Regions from separate parts of the Homo sapiens genome. Here region 2 is linked to region 1. The links are contacts of gene promoters, found by promoter capture Hi-C in blood cells and fetal thymus (Javierre and others, 2016). All regions are on one chromosome and are shown on one strand. Each heading gives the region's core, a stretch centred on a gene start or on the middle of the fragment in contact. The rest is flanking DNA. Distances are from core to core; before and after follow the strand shown. Region 1 holds the start of C1QTNF2 (C1q and TNF related 2). Region 2 overlaps CCNJL (cyclin J like).

Evidence for each region. The method cuts DNA at HindIII sites, captures the fragments that hold promoters and counts their contacts. A CHiCAGO score of 5 or more calls a contact.
Region 2: a contact is called between a fragment that was not itself captured here and the fragment with the promoter of C1QTNF2 in region 1, in 3 of 17 cell types (neutrophils, M1 macrophages and M2 macrophages). The highest score is 6.5, in neutrophils.

The regions. Positions count from the first base shown.
Region 1 is chr5:160,367,911-160,372,659 of GRCh38, forward strand. It overlaps C1QTNF2 (C1q and TNF related 2), which reads right to left and starts at 2,716. Exons shown (of 3, transcript NM_031908.6): 1 at 2,602-2,716. The HindIII fragment of the contact is 8,188 bases long and covers 1-4,056 here.
Region 2 is chr5:160,250,990-160,255,701 of GRCh38, forward strand. CCNJL (cyclin J like) reads right to left here. Exons shown (of 6, transcript NM_001308173.3): 5 at 4,560-4,712; 6 at 1-2,809. The coding sequence ends at 2,389. Among named protein-coding and RNA genes, the nearest start is that of FABP6, 24 kb to the left of the region's middle. The HindIII fragment of the contact is 171 bases long and covers 3,378-3,548 here.

The DNA of each region.
Region 1 (4,749 bases), core at 1,466-3,965:
GTTCATATCTCCTTTAAATCTCCCCACACTTCTAAGAGGCTGATACTGTCATCTCCACTTGGCAGAAGAGAAAACAGAGCTCAGAAAAGGGAAAAATTACTTTTCCTAGGTCAATGTTTGGGTGGAACTCAGGCCTGCTGGCTCAGGGCCCAGAGCTCATGTTCCTCCACCATGGCCCCTCAGCTAACAGGGGAGTTACTAACAGGGCAGTGATGTGTATGCGCATGTGTATGTGTGTTATAGGAGTAAGCCACTTAACAGAAGTGAACAAATCCAGGGGAAGGTTATTTGCTTGAAAAAATATTTGGCACATAATTCCTTTCAAAAGAAAAGCTAGAATGGGCTGGGCGCGGTGGCTCATGCCTGTAATCCCAGCGCTTTGGGAGGCCGAGGCGGGCGGATCACAAGATCAGGAGTTTGAGACCAGCCCGGCCAATATGGTGAAACCCCGTCTCTACTAAAAATACAAAAATTAGCTGGGTGAGGTGGTGTGCGCCTGTAGTCCCAGCTACTGGGGAGGCTGAGGCAGAAGAATTGCTTGAACCCAGGAGGCGGAGATTGCAGTGAGCCGAGATTGTGCCACTGTACTCCAGCCTGGGCAACAGAGCGAGACTCCTTCTCAAAAAAAAAGAAAAAAGAAAAAAAAGAGAAGCTAAAATGGAATATAACTAACAGAAGTTTGATTTATGCAAGAGTTCATCTCACAGAGGTAAATTAAGGTTGGCAGGCCTTTGACCAGGAAGAAGGAGTGGGTGAAGCTGTGGGTGTGGAGAGAGACTCTGTTACCCCACAGTGAACATTTAGGAGTAGGAAGCATCAGTGATTGAGACAGCAGGAGAGACTGTCTGATCAGCAGGGTCAGCATAAGAGAAGGAATAGCGAGACAGGGGGGAGGAATAGGGAGATTTGCAGAGGAAAAAAGTGACACCTTGGAGAACTTGCTGAACATTCAATGGAGACAGAGTGGCTTCAAACGTGACTCCAGCCTTGTGAAAAATAATCTCAGTTCATCCATACAATGACACACTATGCCCATTAGAAGAACAAAGTAAGCCTGTATATGCAGATATGAAAACATGGCGAAGACACACTGTTAAGTGAAAAAAGCAAGTTGTACCATGGAATGTAAAGTATGCTTCTCTTTGAGTTTAAAAAAAAAAAAAACAGCACAAATACAGAGTATATATATGTACAGAAGGGTTGGGGAAATACTTTCCGAAAAGACACAATCTTGTTAAGGGGTTACCTTTCAGAATTGGGAGGGGGTGTGTGGGCTTTTACTTTTCTCTTTCTACCTTTTTGAACTGTTCGAATTTCTTGTGATGAGCGTCGTTACTTTTATAACATTTAAAACAAAAGGTAAACCTAAGGTTTAAGGATTGGAAGACTGGTAAGTGTGGTATCCCTGCTAGGAGATGGGGAGAAGTCAGACATTTGGGAGGAAACAAATTCTGCAGTGAATCTGATGTGTTACAATGAAGGGCTGTAGTGATGCTTGGAAATGTGTGGAGAGTTTGAGGATCGGGCAGTTGAAAGCAGGAGTAATTGATATAATTACTCCAGATGACAGAATAAATTAGAGAATGGTGCAGAGGGAGGGCAAAAATAAGGATGTGAGAGGACAGATTTTTAACAGTGCTAACTGAGCACCAGCCTTGGATTGACCTATGTAAGACATTGTCTTTCTATTACTGCTACTTCAGCATGGTGGAAACACAGGGTCTCTGAGAGATGGCCAGTCTAAGGAAGGGACCTCTGCAGGCTTCCAAGCAGGGCAATTTTGTGGTCAAGGAGCAGAGGAGGATCACAATGAGGTAATGCAAGGGACTCATGGTGTCAGAGGAGAGACCTGGGCTGGGAGACTATTAGGGCCCACTGCAATTATTTAGCTGAAAAGCGAGGTCCTAGAATGGGGCAGCAGCAGTGGGGATGGAGAAATAAGGACAAAGCATATTAAGACAAGTAGTTTAGGTGGGGAAGGAGAGTGAAGAGAGTCATGAGGCATTGAGTACAAATCTCTGCCTGCCGTTCAATACCTTTTGAGCTCAGTTTGCCAGTCTGTATCATATATTTAAATAAATGTGAAGGTTAAGTGAAATAATGCATTCAGTAAATGTTAACTGTGATTGTTAGCTCGGGTATTGGACTCAGATTTACCAGACTTCAAGTCCCTTTTTTATCAATTACTAGCTGTGCAACCCTGTCCAAGTCATTAATGTCTCTGAGCCCAGTTCCTCTTTTGTAGACGGGGATAATCTGTTGTCATGAAAATGAAAGAGCACAAGTAAAGTGCTAGCAGGACTTGGCACAAAGTAGGCGCTCAATAAATGGCAGAGCTACGGGTGTTACTATTGTAACGGGTAAACCACTGGGCACAGAGCCTGGCACACAGTAAGGACTCAAAACATGTTAATTTGTATTATAATACGAAGGTAGAAGTCGAGAGGCAGGAATGCAGGAGCTGCCCAGCCCGCAATAAAGGCGCGCTGGCAGCTCTCCCACCTTCCGCATCCCGCCCCGCCCGCAGCAGTGCGAGTCCTCCTCCTCCTCCTCCCCGCGCGCACTTGCCGCCCCCGCCCGACCGCGGTGCGGGACACTCACCCTCGCGGCTGCCCGCCACGTCCAGGGGCGTCCGGAGCAAAGAAGCTCTCGGCGGGGCTCCGCGTCCCGGCTTTCCTCAGCGGCAGCAGCCGGGCAGAGCGTCGGCCCCAGGCATAGTTTTCCCATCCCGTCATGGGCGGGAGAGCCTTCCTCCCGGTCACGTGGGCTGGCCCGCAGCGCAGCATTCTCTTTTTAGCAGCTGTTTGGAAAAAACTTGCAGTGCTGATGACAACTCGGGTGTGTCGATGCATCTCTGCGTTTGTAGAGCTTGTTAGCGTATTTGGAGGTTTTGTGCGCCAGAGTGATCAGAGTGATTGTTTCCCACGCGTTTGCAAAGGTGTGCATGTACTTGAGTGTGATGATAAATCATAGGGATGTGTTTAGTTGTGTGTGTGCGTACGTGCGTTTATCCAAATTTTCATCAGGGCTGTTCGGTGTATGTACACATGCATGCACATGTCCAAGATGGCAGCTTGGTGTAAAACTGGAGGGCACATCAGTGGTTGGATGTACACGATAGTGGCTAGACATCTGTATGTGGGGTGCATGTTTAAATGTGTGTGTGACTGTGCAGGGGCTCATTCTGTGTGTTGGTTTGACATCTGTATGTGGGGTGTATGTTTAAATGTGTGTATGACTGTGCAGTGGCTCATTCTATGTGTTGATTTCTATGCATGCCTTGGTGTGGATTTTGTCCGGATGTGAGTGTGCACATACACACTAGTGTGGGTGAGTTCCCCTGTGTACCAGCTCTCATTTCTCTTCTCCCCAGAAGGTGAGGATTCACTGGTCTCACTCACTCTGGCCCAGCCTCAAGTCATTGAGAGACTTATGGAGGGTCTCAGCTCCCAGGATAGGCAAAGCAATCCTATTTGGGAATCAAGCAGGCACTGGAGGAAAGGAAATCCTCCAAGGCCTGGCTTTTGCTTCTCCCTGTTCCTTCCACTGCTCTCTTCCACTAGCTACCCATATTTCACTCTGCACAGCCAGAGCATCTGGTTAACAGCTGGTAAGTGACACAAAATTTACAGTCAGAATTTTAATACAGATATGCATTTGAATTCTAATGTTGTATCCACCACCTTAATCAAGTCAGATAATCTCACAGATGGTGTTTTATTTTCTAAAAAAAATGGGAGAATAATATTACCTGCACTGCCTTTACCCCAAAGTTGGGACACTAACTCATAAAGATGTTTGGTAAGCCATTGAACTATGTAGGGAATTATTACTAATATCACATAAATACTATTTGAGAAAGAAAGTTTGTAGGCTTAACAAACATTCATTCAACAAATATTTAATAAGCATCCATTGTGTGTCAGTCCCCAAGCAAGGTGCTGGGGACATAGAGGGAAACAAATAGGCTTGATGCCTACCCTCATGAAACTTAGAGTCCTCCAGCTGGGGATGACACAAGTGGTTACAAGTGAAATGAGTGTTATAGAAAAGAAAAGCTTAAAGTATAAACTGGGCAGTCAGGGGAAGGCCTGGGAAACTGATGTTTCAGGTGAACCCTGAGAGATGACTGAGACTTGTCTGAATGTAGGGGAAGTGTGAGCTCAAAAAATGAAGGAATGATAACATGTGGAGTGGAGTTTAGGGTGTTGATACACAGATGGCTGGAAAGGAAACTTCCATCCACCGCCTCTTGGGTCAGATGTGTCAGCAATTGGAAAGGTGAGGAAACTGCTTAGAATGCCTGGAGGCCATTCAGAATCTAAAGGGCTCAGGAAAGCCCCTCTCCTAGAGTAGAGTGGTAATATCTGTGTGTTATCCATGTGGCTCCATCATGACAGAGGTTGAAATCACTGGCATGCTCTCATTGGTTAAAAAAAAAAGGTTAATGAAAAGTTAAGAAAGGCAGTGCTGCTATACCTGGTAGTGTGAAACATTTAATAAACACTACTGATTGAATGAATGGGGGCACATGTTTTTCCAACTTTTGAAGGATACCTGGAACCTAGGTTTCCTGAAGCCTAGCAGAGTTCCTGGGTCCCTGTCCTATGGTTCCTTGCAGTGGTGATGGCTTCATGTAGCATGCAATCCAAAATACTTGTCCGGTGGCAGTTCCACGAGCTGCAGGAACTGTGTCAAGCTAGAATGGGGCTTAGAACTTCCTCTCCCTAGCCTCTCTCTGTCTTTACT
Region 2 (4,712 bases), core at 2,213-4,712, 120 kb before region 1:
GTAAGTGGTGTGATCATTAAGTTTATGTGGCAGCTTGGCTAGGCTACAGTGCCTGTTGTGTGGCTAGGTACTAGTCTAGATGTTGCTGTCAAGGTATTTTTAGATGTGATTAACATTTACAATCAGTTGACTTTAAGAAAAGCCTCCATAATGTGGGTGGGCCTCATCCAACTGGTAAAAGGTCGTAAGAGCAAAGATTGAGGTTTCCTGGAGAATAAATTTTGCCTCACGACTGCTAACACAGAAATCATGCCTGAGTTTCCAGCCTGTGGGCCTGCCCTACAGATTTTGAACTCTACTGCAACATCAGCTCTTACCTGAATTTCCAGCCTGCTGACATGCCCCACAAATTTTAGACCACAGCCTCTGCAATCACATGAGCCAATTCCTTAAAATAAATCTCTCTCCATATATATCCTACTGGTTTCTTTGGAAAAACCCTGAGACGGTGATGGAGCTGGGGTGTCAAGCCTTATACACCCCTCCGCTGGCCTCTGTGTGCCCAGGGAGGCCCAGCTCCTACTCAGAGGGCAGGACTCAGCTCCCGAGGTCTTGCTGCTGCCCCCAATATTCCACCCTCTACCATAGGGAGATGCTCACCAGGGCTGATTTGAGAGAGGGAAGGAGGGGCCGGCCCAAGAGGGGATGCCTAGGACAAGAGGTGAGAGATCAAGAGCAGGTGACGTGTTTATTGTGGGACGCCTCTTTCTGGGGGTCGTGCTGGCTGTGAGGGAACCCTCACAATCCCCAGGTCCCAGAACAGACAGATACAAGAACTTGAATCCAAACTGCTTGCACATAAATAGAACGGAGGTTGGCAAAGGAAAAAAAAACAACAACAAATGAACGTGCAGCCTCCTATGCTAGTGTGACACGGTGGCAGAGTCTTATCCACACCCCGTCTCTTTTCTTACTGTCTCCATGCTGAGATTTTCAGCTGCTCTGGAAAGATTCACCACCTTCCGATCTGACTCAGCAGCAGACAGCTGCCTTCCTGGCGGCCCCTGCCACAGTCTCCAGGACTGGCAAGGGGCTAAGGAATCCAAGACAGGTATTCCTCAAACAAAACAAAAATTGCTTCCACGGTCCTTTGCACCTCCCAGTTCTGCTGGGTGAACAATGTGTCCCCCAACCCCAAACTAAACCAAAGAACATGCTGAGCACAAGCTGCGAGTCAGAATAAAAACATATTGCACATGGTTACAAGAGTCTTCCTGAGGGCCCTCTCGCTGCAGATCCCTAAATACTGGCTTTTGATCCAACCAGTCGCTTGCCTATCAATGGTGGTATCAAACGCCCATGTACATCCCACTCCCCAAATACAGGTGGGACTAAGCAAATTTTCCACATTGCTATCCTTCGCTATCAGCCACACTCAAAGCCTAGACTGGGTTAAACTCATGCCCTGTAAGTATGTGGTGGAGAGAGGTGGGAACTGTTTAAATCTTTGTCTTCCTTTCAACGAGCTTCTCCCTCCCTGGGTAGTTATTAAAGTTCTAGTGGTGAACACAGCCTCCAAGACGTGGAATCTTCCGGAACCGAGAGCTGGGAAAATGGTTCTCTCCAACCATATGCCTTCAAAAAGGAAGCTCTGTGGTTACCTGCGGGTCCATCACAAGTTGGGTTCAAACTTGGGTTCCAAATTAACAGCCCTCATGTGGGACAGGCAGTGTGGCAATTAAATTTGTTTTTTTCTCCAAAGGAATTTTCAAGTATCACCAAATCCCTGATACAGTGTGTAAACAAGACATCTTACGAAACAGAAAGCAAGACCACTTCGGGAAGCAGCAGCACATGACATATCTAAAAGGCTGAAAATGGTTTTAGGTTCGAAAACAAAGGCAAGACAGCCACCCACTGTGCCTCGCAAGGCAAACACTCAGGCATACACACCAACTCAGGCCCCTCTGCATAGAGCCAGGGAAAGAAAAGCACCCAATATGGGATCCTCCGGGGGTCCTGAGAACACGCCAGGCTGCCCCTCCTTTTTCAGCGGTGTAGCTGCCATCAGCAAAGAATAGAAAAGTCTTTAATGCTAAAAACTGGACATGCTTGAGATCAGTGGTCTGTGTCCAGTTCCCACTCTCCTGGCCTCTTATCAAGTCTTTCTCGATTCACTGGGCCCCTGTGTGGGGGGACGGCCACCAAGCCATCCTTTTGTACCCTAGCCACACGTGGCAGACGTTTCTCAGAGGAATGCTCTCGGGTGAGGTATGTTATTGAATGTTTTGCTCTGGGTCAGTTTTATTTAAAAGGAGCACAGACCCTCCACGTTCCAAGGCTCTTCAGGGATGGCCTCCTGCTGCCTCACTTGGCTGAGCTCTCCTCTTCAGTGTCCTCTTCCTCTGCCCACATCTCCAAGGCTTCCTCGTGAGGTCTGGAGGTGGCCTATCTGTCAAAGCAGCCGGTGGGGAACATGTGGCTCCCACTGAAGTAGCTGCTTCCATAGGTGGTGGCGAGGCAGTGCCTGGGCTCAGCTGCAATGGCCATATGCATGCTAAGGGATGCAGGGACGGGCACGGGACACATATCCAAGGGCTGCAGCGGTTGGTACGGGGTGTGGAGGGATGAGCCTGTACTCCCCGAGAGCAGGCTCCCTGAACGGTGGGCCTGCAAGGAGTCCCGATAGGCCAAGCATAGGTCCTGCACGGGGGTCTGGAACTGTGCCAGGGTGGTCGCTGGCTGGCCGAGGGCCGGGTAGGCTGGTGGCTGGAACAGCACTTGAGTGGGGGTGGGGGGTGTGCCGGGCACCATTGCCAAGGCCTGGCTCTTGACGGCTACGGCATCCTTGAGGACGTTGTCATACACTCTGAAACGAGAAGACCTGGGTGAGAACTGGAGGCCAAAAGCCACCAGATGCCTGTGTGTGTCTCTACCTGTCTTGCTAAGTGGGACTGGAAGAGATGCGTGTGTCCTGTGTCCACCAGGCCTTACCTGGCTGTGCTCACTGTGTGTGGCACCGCTCCAGCTGTTCACAAACTAGATTCAGGCCTTGGCTCTCAGCTTGGATCTGCTTCCTACAGAAAATTTCTTCTGGCCCCTCCAGACTAGGCTGGCTGTCCCCACAGCCCCATGCTGCCCTATCTCCACAGTCAATACCCCAGAGAGTAACCTGCTCCAGAGGGTAACTTCTAGTTACCTGGCTTCCAGGAGGATGGCGCCTGCTTGTGCTCACCAATGCCTTCCCATCCCCTGGCACTGGAGTGTTCCTGGGGCCTGAATGAGCCCAATCTCTGCTTTCCAGGCAATTCTGGGCCAGCTCCATCCCCAGCGGGGTCACTCCTTAGCTAGCTGATATCAACCAAATTGACCGCTGGGGCCTAGGATTTTTCATCTGAAAAGGGGGCTGGAACAGAGATTTTTGCCATCTCAAAAAAAGCTTCCCATATAGCTTTTTGGGAAAACAAAACAATTAGAGGCTTATGTAAGGCATGCACCGACACTCAGACCAGGCTTTGGGGACCTTCTCAAAAACACAAATTTTAAAATAAGGCCTACGGAGTAGGACTGACTTTTCAGAGGAATGAGATAAAGACAGCTGCCAGCAAAGCTTCCCACATCGGGGAGGGCTCTCTTCAGGGGTCTAAGGGCTTCCGCTTTGCCCACACAGCCCACCAGTCAGTCAGGCCAGCACCCAGGATACGCAGTGCCTGGCAGGTGGAAGGGGAACTGGACAGTGTGTGCCTACTGGGAATGGCTCTGTCCTGTTTGCCTTGCTCCCTGCAGTAACTATGGGGCACATTTACCTCCAGTGTCAGTTTCAGGGTGTTGGGCTCATGATGCCTTTAAGTATCTTCTCTGACACACTGAACATTTCCTCCCCAAGATTCCCAGGGACCCTTGCAGAGGCTGTGGCGCTTAGGGGAGCTTACTGGCTAAGAGGTCAGCTTTGTGACCATGTCTGAGAAAAGTAGCTTATAATGGAAGTCCTTCAATGCGATTATCTATAAGATTACACTGGGACTTAGATCAAATAGCCTAGACATTTAAAGGTGCAAACAGCCCGCTTCTCCCTTGCTGCCTGACTTTAAAGATGTAAACCCGGTCGGGCGCAGTGGCTCACACCTGTAATCCCAGCACTTTGGGAAGCTGAGGTGGGTGGATCATGAGGTCAGGAGTTCAAGACCAGCCTGACCAACATGGTGAAACCCCGTCTCTACTAAAAATACAAAAATTAGCCAAGCGTGGTGGCGCGCACCTGTAATCTCAGCTACTTAGGAGGCTGAGGCAGGAGAATCGCTTGAACCCGGGAGGCGGAGGTTGCAGTGAGCCGAGATCGTGCCATTGCACTCCAGCCTGGGTGACAGAGCGAGACTCTGTCTCAAAAAAAAAATAAAATAAAATAAAAAGCAAACCTGAAGCTATTCAAAATAGGAAGAACTGGTTCTCGAAACCCCACTTCTACCAGGAGTCACCATGGCCCACTTTCCCTGAGACCCTGTAGCTGGAAGAACCACCACAAGTTCCAGACTCTGGAAACTGCCCGTGGCCTGAGGCAGGCCTCAAGGCAAGAGGAACCTCACTATTTCAGAAACACAGGATTCAGGGGAGAAACTTACACCAGCAGGATTTCAATACACGTGCTGAGGTGCTCCAGGGAATAGCTTGAGATCCTCTGCAGGTCTCTGGTCCAGTAGGGAGAAAGCTGCAGGCAAATCCTGGAGGCCCCAACACAGGCCGCAGCGACCACAGAAGGCTGGAATTTGTAGAAT